Linked DNA regions of Homo sapiens: region 1 is linked to region 2. Evidence: promoter capture Hi-C in human tissues and cell types (Jung and others, 2019). All regions are on one chromosome and are shown on one strand. Each heading gives the region's core, a stretch centred on a gene start or on the middle of the fragment in contact. The rest is flanking DNA. Distances are from core to core; before and after follow the strand shown. Region 1 overlaps ANTXR1 (ANTXR cell adhesion molecule 1). Region 2 holds the start of ANTXR1 (ANTXR cell adhesion molecule 1).

Evidence for each region. Contacts are between HindIII fragments. The study calls those that stand out against the background at their distance.
Region 1: a fragment that was not itself captured here is called in contact with the fragment with the promoter of ANTXR1 in region 2 in 2 of the 25 tissues and cell types used here (H1 embryonic stem cells and aorta).

What each region holds. Positions count from the first base shown.
Region 1 is chr2:69,136,780-69,142,162 of GRCh38, reverse strand. The region is part of intron 12 of ANTXR1 (ANTXR cell adhesion molecule 1); the gene reads right to left. Among named protein-coding and RNA genes, the nearest start is that of MIR3126, 36 kb to the right of the region's middle. The HindIII fragment of the contact is 8,828 bases long and covers 1-5,383 here.
Region 2 is chr2:69,010,213-69,015,725 of GRCh38, reverse strand. It overlaps ANTXR1 (ANTXR cell adhesion molecule 1), which reads right to left and starts at 2,547. Exons shown (of 18, transcript NM_032208.3): 1 at 2,075-2,547. The coding sequence starts at 2,226. The HindIII fragment of the contact is 10,036 bases long and covers 156-5,513 here.

The DNA of each region.
Region 1 (5,383 bases), core at 571-3,070, 130 kb before region 2:
AAAGAGCTTGGGCTTTGGAGGCAGGAAAAGATGATCCAAATCCTAAACTTCTACTTACTAATATGTGGGCTTTGAGTAAGTTGCACAACCTCTTTAAGCCTTCCTTTTCTTTTTATGATGTCAAGTTATTTATACTGTTAGTAGTTAATTTAAAGACATACACTAAAACTACTCCAAGAATGGGACAAATATGTGGACTTGTAAAATTATTTTTAAGACTGACGACATGGGGGACTTCACTGGTTCTCATAACCCAGCATCTATTTGGGGGTATCAGTGGGGCCTGGAGGCAGTGAGAGAAAACAAACTTCATGGGGCAGATGCTGCTGGGACCAGGCAAAAAGCCTTCATGCCCTAAGGTCCTCACTGTCATACACCAGCCCATTGCAAAGTATCACTCATTCATGACAGATGGATGATGACATGAAAGTCAATGTACACAGTTAACCCATTTTGACACATTCATTCTTCAGCATTTTTTCAATACAGTTAATCTTAAATTATATTAAGACATAAAACAGACCTGCTTTTGCACATCCATTACTGGTATGTCTCCCAGGGTCAGGCAGAAGGAAACAGAATGACTGTCACACAATTGCTAATTGTCGAGACCCGAGACAGACTCACTCACGAGTGCTCCTGCACACCAGGTACTGCTTGTTGACTTGCGCACACTGGACTCAAAGACTTTTGAAAACTGCTCTTGCCCCTGAAACCTAAAACTCCACTGCCTGTCCTTCAGAATCATTGTAAATCTTTCCAATGATGGACAGGTGAATGTAAGACTTCTTTTTCTTTATGTATGTGAAATTGAGATAATTCCTGCTTCCCAGATTGGTTCTGTGATGACATGAGACAAGGCATGCAGAGATCCTGGCACATGGCCAGCCTTCAAAAAATGGCACTTCCCTTTCCATCCTCCCTTTCCTTCTACGTCCAAGCCAAGTTCCTGGTGATGTGCCCATGCTTGGCCAAAGTAAATGAAGTTGATTTCTTGAACAACCCTGTACAAACTCTGACTAGAGCTATGGTGTTAGTGGGTGGTCCCAGATTACACATTTGAGAAATTCAGGCCCTTAAGATTGCCATCCATGTGTCAAGAAAAGGGAAACCCAAGTGGAGTTTCCAATGGTAAATTTAATATCCTTGATCAAAGCTGATCAACCATAAATGAGGGTAACATAATGAAACACTGTGATTCATTCTGGCCACCTGAGAGGTAATTTGGGCTAGAGATGGCAATTAAATTGATAAGACACTGAAGATAGTAGATTCCTTAACCCAAAGTGGGGCAGTATAGAAAAAGTATTAGGTACCTAAACCTTTGTGGAACTCTTTCTAAAAAGCATGGCTATAAAGCAATGAGGCTGTTCATGTAGTGAACATAACTGAATTCCCACATCCAAATGAATCTAATTATCTCCAAACTAGTGGCTTTGGAGATTGGAGACTACCTCCAGTGATACAGCCATTGCCCAAAGCAATTCTGAAACACCTCCCTTGGGACTCTTTCTAAAGTCAGTTTATAGGCCCCCAAAAGAAAATCTTATAATCTCTTAGTCATGCTTTGCTTTTCATGAAAGCATTCATGAAAGTTCTGAGCTTGATAATCCATCATTCACCAGAACTGGTTCCTACAGCTTTTGGGGTTTTAGAAATCAAATGATGATGATATTCCCCTAATCCCCTACTGAGGATGTTCAAATATTGTGGCTTTAAAGTTATGACCATTTCAAAGCAAGAGTGCAGAATATATTTGGAATAGTGACAGCGTTGTTGGAGAAAGCATATGGTTTTCCAAAGCAAATCCGTTGAAGGAGCAGAAATCATATGGATGTATAAATCCTAGTTTGCTATAAATCTTATTACTTTATGCCTTATATGAATAATACCAGAAGGACTGAGATAAGCCATCATTAATATGCAGTTAAGGGGAAGATTGATGACATACTCCCACAAACTCAAGCTTTGAGGCTCTTATCACAGAAGGTGATAAGTACTCTTGTGGTACTCTTGTCACCCTGACCCAGTCATGACATTTCATGTTACTTACGATGGTGAAGGTGATTAAAGTAAATTTTGGATTCATTCAGCACTTCCCTTTCTCTCCATAAAATGCATGGAGCTTGTTAATCAAAACCAGTTTTCAGAGAATAATCCAGACAAGATGTAGCTTGTTAGTACTTGGAGTACTTTAGTTCTTGGAAGTGGGGTGTTGAAATAGGATTACAGAGAAGGTACTTAGTAGTGCTCAAATATTATGACACTGGAAGAGAAAGGCTGGTGTCTCATTTTCATTTTTTGTTTTACTAAATATAGTGATTCGTTTACTTACCGTTAATGTAGCCATTTATTTAATGTATATGCTCAATTGGTCTGATTGATCATCCCTCATGTATTAGTTGGCATCACCGTTACCTATTATTGGTAAGTAAACACCACCTACAATATACCATGGGCTGTTGCTTTAGATTACGAACTTGGAAAGGTGAATTTGGGTGGTGCCTCAAAAAGATAGATGCTCTACCCGAGCATCTATCATCTATGATCAACCATGAATCTATCATCCATGATCAACCAGAGGTAACCATGATGATCAATTCCTTAAAGCAATGTCATTAAACTGTGTAATAGGGTGTCAATAAACCAAGAACTTATTTCCCATTGAGTTTCTAATGCATGCTCAACAGTAGGAGGCATAGAAAGATAGACATCAACTTCTAACCCTGAAAGAGGTTGTCAGAGTCCAATTACAAAGTCAGGACTGATTCTCAGGGCTTGCCTGGAGAGCCGTACTGGTGAAATGCAGTTAAACTCTCAAAGGTGCTGCAATGTGCAGTGCCTGAGCTCAGAGCAGAGGGAGTTAGGAGGCTTGCAGAGGCCACTGAGTCATCCTGGGGCAGGTCCAGAAAGCACTGGGCTAGGCCTTAAGGCCACAGTGAAATTGGATAGGTGAAAGAAGAGAGGGCATTCCAGAAGGAAAATGAAATGTGATCAAAGGCACAGAGTAGAAATGGACATAATTTTATTTAGAGTGAGGATGTATGAAATACAAAATTGCCATTCAACATTTTTATCTGTTAGGGATCAGTACATTCACAAATTTTAAGGCCAGTAGGTAGGAGCTAACTGGGGCTGCCAGGTCAAGCTCCATCATAAGGAGCATTTTGTAGATATTTACTTTGGCTGAGTTTGCACCTTTTATATACAATCTCAAGAATCTTGAGCTTTATAGATACCTATAAAGTATTCTAAGTCCATAAATTTGGGCAATGCAGGTAAAATAAAATTGCTCTTTCATATTTCCTCAGCCTGCAAATGAAACAGTTTTCCTGATGCTGGGTTGTGTTGAAAAGAAACTCAGTAATATTTCAGTTGTCACTTATTCAAGTGCTTTTTATTTTTTTAAAAAATGAAACAAAACATGAAGCCCACTGCTTTGGGCACTGACTAAACTAACGTCTGTTCCAGTAGCCACAGTAATGGCAAAGGAATGTTAGTTATGTATCGTTTGTGGCTGACTCTTCTTTCGAGGAGAAATAAATTAACTCCCTGCCTTTCGCATTTCCTTGGTGCCTTAATGTATAGGTGAGAAGATGGCTGCTTTGCAAAAGGGAAGGTGTTTATATACCCTCATGGGACCTTGTCATTCTGTAGGGAACAGAGGGAGGAGTTTGACTGCCTTCTGGGAATGCAAACAATATAAATCCTGTCAGTCCCAAATACTATCCTGATTAGAAAATACACGTAATGACTCTGGGGTGACTTGTAATTTAGTGCAGTATGACTGTAAGCTGCCAACTAGGACAATATGATCCTGGTGGGTCATCTCCCATTCTCAGATAACTTAGCTCACTGATTTTGCCAATGTTGGACTATTTAAAGAGTTGACAATTATTTTAGCATTGGTAGAAAGGAGATCCTCTCAGATTTTCTCTGCTTTTTGGTCCTTTTCCCCAAACTATTAAATCTCTCCTCTTCCTCCTCCTCCCATTTCTCTTTCCCACTGACAACTCCTTCCCCCCTCTACCAATTTTTTTTTCTTTTTTCTTTCTTTTTTTTTTTTTCTTTTTTTTTTGAGATGGAGTCTTGCTGTTGTCGCCTCGGCTGGAGTGCAATGGTGCAATCTTGGCTCATTGCAATCTCCGCCTCCCGGGTTCTAGCAATTCTCCTGCCTCAGCCTCTTGAGTAGCTGAGATTACAGGTGTCCGCTACCACACCTGGCTAATTTTTGTATTTTTAGTAGATTTGGGGTTTCACCATGTTTGCCAGGCTGATCTCGAACTCCTGACCCCAGGTGATCCACATGCCTTGGCCTCCCAAAGTGCTGGGATTATAGGCGGAGCCACCGCGCCCACTGTTTTTTTTTTTTTTTTTTTGAGACAGGGTCTTGCTCTCTTGCACAGCATAGGGTGGTGCAATCATGACCTACTGCAGACTTGGATTCCTGGATTCAAGTGATCCTCCCACCACAGCCTCCTGAGTAGCTGAGACTACATGCACACAAGCCACCATGCCTGGCTAATTTTTCTATTTTTTGTAGAGATAGGGTCTCTACAAAAGACCCTGTTGTAGAGCCTGTTGCCCAGGCTCCCAATGACTTTTCAGATCCTTTTTCAATTTTGCACTTCTTCCTATAATTGTGCTTCTCTCAAATGGATTCACTGAACCAGGGTGCTCAACCCAAAAGACTATCTGGAATAGCCTCAATAACCCAGGAGGTGGCATAAATGGACACATTGGTCATTCACTAAAGCTTGGGTTCTTAGGCCATATGCCTTCTCTCAAGTTCTTAGAGACTAGGAATCCTTATTTCATATGCAATTTATGTAAGCTTGGTTTTCTGATATTCAGGTACCCAGAAGCTTAGACTGTCAAATTAGAAGTGCAGAGGGGAGTATCTAGATTAGAAAACACAGGTATGATATCAAGAAGCGAGAGACCAGAAAAAGTAGAACCATAAACTTAAAAAAAACACAACATAGTGATCAAAGACTGCTGTAGGGACAAACAGCTTTGCAAATTGAGAGTTTCATAGTAATCCGCCAAATTTTAGTTGGTGATAAAAATGGGGGAGAATAAAATGTACACATTTTACAATATTTTATAGCAACCATTTTGTGTACAAAGGCTTTCTAGGAAGGAAAGGGGTAGGTGGGGGATGAACTCAGTTTGCGTGTGCTTTCTTGGTTCTCTTGATCAATGATTTCTCTCCAGTACTACCCAGAACCCATGACAGCATTGACTTCAGCTTATCTTCCCATCCAGATTGACAAGCAAGTACACAGTTCTTTCTATACATGTCTATTTCTCTTTTCACCTCTTCTATGCCCAACTAATAGTTTTCTTTGTTACCTCTCCATTTATCTTGTTTTCTATTCTG
Region 2 (5,513 bases), core at 1,298-3,797:
CCTTTATGGTTTCTTCCTTATCATGTTTTAAAAGCTCTAAACCTAAGATTACAGTAATATTCATCTAAATTATCTTCTAGTTCTTTGATCATTTCATTCTAAATATTTAGATTTTCAACCTTTCTGAAATTTATTTATGTGTATGGTTTGTAAAGTATAAATCTAACCTTTTTCATTCTCCATGTTATCAATCACTTGTCCAGGAACCATTTTTTTTTAAATTAATGAATCATTATATACTGATTGGAAATTCCACTAAATGTTTACATGTGTTTGGATCTACATGTACTTGTCTTTTTAGATTTTCTACTCTATCCACCTATTCTTTGGCCTTTACCATCCTGTTTTTATTAATTTACATTATAATACATTTTAATATTTGGAGAGAGAATATGGCTTCATTATTCTTTTCCAAAAATGTTTCAGCTCTTTTTACCTGTTTTTTTTTTTTTTGCTAAGATAAGCCTAGAATCATTTTGTTAAATTCTTATCATCAAAACAAACTCTTTCAGAACTTTGACTGAAAAGTTGAATTCAATTTCTAAATTAATTTGGGGAAAACTGGTTATCTCTACAGTATCCATATCTCTATAGTATCTCTACAGTCATCCATTCAGAGACATGGTGATTCTGTCCCCCTTTTTTTTTTTTTTTAGATTTTCCTGAATATCATTCTGAATTGGCTTTTTAAAAAAGCACGGAGGAGGAGCACCTCCGACTGTTTTCATGCACTGTCTCTAAGTCTGTGAGCTGATGCTTCCAGCCACTAGAAGTAACAAAAGAAATTCCATTCCTTAGCACTGGAGCATATTTTCAGTATCCACCTTCTCATAAATCTGCAGAAAAGAAATCTCACTTTTCATCCAAAGAATCTGGAGTTCAAAACAGCCTTTACGGAAAAATCAAACTCCAGGGGCAACTGCAAAGCACATTTGGTGTCTAGCTAGCCAGCTTATTTTGCAGGACTCTTTTTCCAACTCCTAAATACTTTCCAGTCTGTGAAATCCATCTCCCCACCACTGTAACAGCAAAGCGCCTCTCCTGGCACTGGAGAGCTCACTCAGTTTTAATGAGCACGGATCTTCTGTGAGGGGCTTTTTATCGTTGAAGCTGGTTTTCAGCAGATAGCATGAAGCTTCCTTGGGTGACTGTGGCTTGGCAAACTTATGCGGATTTGGGAAGTGCTTCATTGGTCAGAATTCAGCTCTCCCTTGAGCAAATCCTAAAGCCTAACCACTTTTTGCAAGGAAACCAGGGCTCCTGCACCTCCCTGGTAGCCCACCAGTCAAATGGCCAAGAGCTTGAATTCACTACATCTGGGGTACTCAAGTCGAAGGGGAGGGACATTTGGCAATGTCTGGAGGCATTTTTAGTTGTCACCACTAATAAGGAAGGAGTGGGGGGCGGGGGATGTTACTGGCATCCAGTGGGCAGAGGCCAAGGATGCTGCTAAACATCCTACAACGCGCAGGACAGCCCCCACCACAAAGAATTACCAGGTTTCAATCTCAGAAGTGCCAAGGTTAAGAAACCCTGCCTTTCATTCTCACTCAGTGCCCGGTGAGAAGTATGCATTACATGATTAGGAGCAAAGATAATGCCTTCCGTGGGACAGCGTTTCAAAACAAAACAAAAAAACAAAAACAAAAACAAAATGCGACGATTGGCTTTAAAATGCCCAAGCCTCTAACTTTAGGAGTGCCTGTGCCTGCAAGTTCTGCCTTTGGTAAGCAAGCCTTTCCCACCAACACGGGAGGGAGTCACAGAAACTCAGCAAGACAATAGCATCCTCCAAGCCCCTTGCCTGCTCCTGGGACACAGAAAGCAAGACAGAAAAGAAGTCTGTCCCCTTCCGAGCAAGCGGCGTCGCCTCGGCTGCGGGCTCTGGAGCCGAGGCTGGGAGGAGCGCGCCCCAACAAAGGCGCAGCACTCCGCCGCCGCCTGCCGCGCGGTCCCTCTGTGGCCCTGGAGATGCGCTCCTGTCCCCAGGCGACCCTGCCAACGAGCCCGGCCCGGGGCGAAAGCGTTTTCGCCCGCTTAGCCTGGGGTGGGGGGGACAACTCGCGGCACTTACTTGTCCAAAATGAAGTACAGGTCAAATCCGCCGTAGCAGGCTGGACCCCCATCCTCCCTGCGTCCCCCTTGCCCGGCGCAGATGAGCACCAGAGTGGCCAAAGAGAGCCACTGGAAGCCGATGCCGAGGGCTCTCCGCTCCGCCGTGGCCATGGCCCGCAGCCCGGGGAGAGCAGGGTCCGCTCCTTCCCACGCTCCGCGAACTCGCCACGACCCTCAGGGACGCGCCATCCGCGGGCCCTTCCTCGCGGGTCCTTTATTCCCCCTCGCTCCCTCGCAACTCCCCGGAAGCAATTGTCTGGAGGAGTTCAAGGTTTCCCCTCTGGTTTCCGCTCCGATGCTGTTTCTGGGTTTCGGGTTTCAAGGATCCCAATCCTGTCCTCCGCTTCTTTTAAAGGGGAGGGCTGCCTCGGTCCGGGGCCGCCGGGCAGCTCCCGAGGCCGCGCCGAGCTTTTGCAATGGAAGGAGTTCCGTCCCGACGGTTCTTTGTCCCAGATTTTAAATATGATGGGGGGGGGGGGGGGTTTCAAATTGTTCTTGGTGGGGGCAGTGCTTTGCCTTCTCTCCTTCCTCTCTGCCCCCCTTTCGCGTTCTTACGGGGAAGAAAGTTCAAAGGCTGCCACCTTGTGGACAAAGGCGGCGAAAGCACGCGTGGGACCCGCGGGAGTGCGTCGGGGGCGGGGGCGCTTCCAGGCTTCGCGTATAAATTTCCTTGTCCTTACCATTCTCATGTGAGCTGTGCGTGTTTTCTTACTCCTTCCTTCTTCCCACGCACTTTCCCTTTCTTTTTCCGTGACCGCCTCTCCATTCTCTGTAGTCCTTCTATTCCTTCTTTTCCTTCCCTATCCTGCATCTTTTGATAAGGTCACTAAACATTGGATGAGAATTTGTTTCCTCCAACCACGGTGACTCCGGCTCCCCAGGCTAGGACCTTTGCAAACAAACCATTGTGCAGATGAAGTAGGGGAAAAACGGGACCTTTGTGGTATGAGTCATCAGAGTGACCTTACATGGTCTTAGTCTGTCTGGACCATAAAAGAGACTGTTGGGGTCCGGTCTGAAACCATCACAAACAACCCCACAGAGTGTGGTACTTAGGGCTGCTCCCGGCATGGAACAGCTGAGCCTTCTAGATGGCCACCATCTCCATCTTTTAGGGATTCTATGATAATAGTTCTTCTTTTCAGCCTGTGAACTTTGACATTTTCTCTCTATCTTTGATTTAGGATGGAGGAAGTAAACAGCTTACAAGAGTAGAGACGCTCCAAGCAGTTTGGAATTGGCAGGGAAGTTCCGTGCTAGCCTCTCTAAATTGGAGAATCAGCCTCTGAGCCCCAGTTCCGAGTGGTACCCCAGTTCTAGCTTCCTATTGTCTTCCGCTCTGGGAGCCCTCAGTGCATATGCATGTACTGTTTTCCCAGGATTCTTCCTCCAGACACACATATTCCCCTCCACTTGTGTGCCTCCCAGACCCTTATACCCCAATGTGACAGTCCATGGTGGTTTCCCCCAACATGTGTACCATGGAATCTTAGTGTCTTGGAATGCTCCACTAACCAATAATCATGTTGTCAAATCAGCCTTGAAGATTTGTCATGCGTAGCACTGACCTGCCTCCAAAATGAACCCAGTGTTTCTCACCTCCTGGAATTCACACCCCTTCCACCTTGGGTGAGACTGACCTGTGAGTAATTAAGAAGATGGTGTGTGGCTTCTGAGGATAGGCCATGAGAGATGTTGTGGTTTTTCCCTTCTCTCTTGGATCACTCACTGTAGGAGAGCCCACTGCCATGTCGTGAGAACACACAAGCAGCCCCAAGGAGGGGTCCGTGTGGTAAGGAACTGAGACCCCTGCTGGCAGCCAACACCACTTTGCCAACATTGTGAGTGACCCATCTTGGACATAGGTTCCTGACATCCTGTGAAGCCTTCAGCTGACTGCAGCCCTGTCTGACATCTTGACTGCAACCTCATGAGAGATCCCAAACAAGAACTACCCAGCTAAGCCATTCCCTGATTCCTGATCCACAGAAATAAGCGAATTTTTATTAGTGTTTTAAGTCTCTAAGTTTGGGGGCAATTTTAAATATAATAAAAGATAACTAATATATGCCTAGTATCATATTAAAGCCTTGAGAATTTCTGTAGGAAAAAAATTGCTGAACTGTGTTTCCCAGACTTACTTGACCATGAAACTGTTGTTTCATAGATAAAATGTATTAAACCCATACTTTGGGAATTATTGCTCTCAGGAAAAAAATAATTGGAGGGAGATTAAAATACCCTAACCATCCAAGTCTTCCTCTTCCATGTCTTCTTTCTCCTCAAAGGATTGAAAACCCATGCTGACCCCACTGCAGCTCGATGACTTGAAAGACAGTGAGGAAATCTATAGAAATCAGATGGGTAAGGGAAAGCAGAAACACTGGTGGGAGCTGGTAAGAGAAGAAAAGGGATATGACAATGTGATGGAGAGAGTGTTTATGGGATTGGCAAGGAATAGGAAAGAGCTTGAATGTGGAAAGCGGGTGGAGGGGTGAGATGAATCAGGGAAGCATTAAGAATATCTTCTCTCACCGTCATGCCCCCAGGGCCGTCTCAAGTTGTTAAGAGTTTAGGTGACAGAGGAATGTGTTGAGAGCTTTACAGGCAAAATAGTTTAGGAAATTACCCCGGAAGGAAGCAGGGGGTGTCCTGATAGAGCTCTTCAAAGTTACAGACACCATTATCCAAGATAGATGAGGGCATAGTTCTTCCAGGGGTGGGAGGAGAGAGGATATTCTGTGGGAAACAAGGTTATGGGGAAGGGGAGAAAGATCAAGAGGCTCCTCTGGACAAAGATGGTATTTTCCAGGGCAGACAGGCAGTGAGAGGAATTCAGATATTTGAGTGTCCCAGTGCCTCTGCCTCTCTTCCAGGATTCTAGAAAGAAGTCCATCTCTAGATCTTAAAATGCCTCTACCCTGCTCTCCCTCCAGCCTGAGGAAATACATTCCAGGCTGCCTCTTCTACCTAGAGGGCTTTGTGCCAGCCTCACTCACTGTAGGGAGGTGTTCTCCAAACATTCTTGAGAAGTGAGCTTGAAGTTGAGCTGCAGAGATATGGTTATTCGCAGGGAGAGTTTAAATACGACAAAGATGTCCATAGTCTATAACAGTGGTAAATGAAGCCTCTTCTGTGATCCCAGCATGTTCGCTCAGCGGGGGATGTTGTCAGGTGTCAAAAATTGGCAACAACTTTTGCCTTTGTTTGTTAGGCTGTAGTGGCCTCATAATTAGTGCTTGTAGAGAAATGGGAGAGGTGGGTCAGTCACTGCAGGCTAGAAGGCGGCTTGGGGAGAGTCTTGGTGGGTTCCTGCTAGCATTTTCCAGAATGATTTTACAACTCAGAGACATATAAATGTCAAGATCTTCCTACACAAATGTTACCATCCTCTTGAG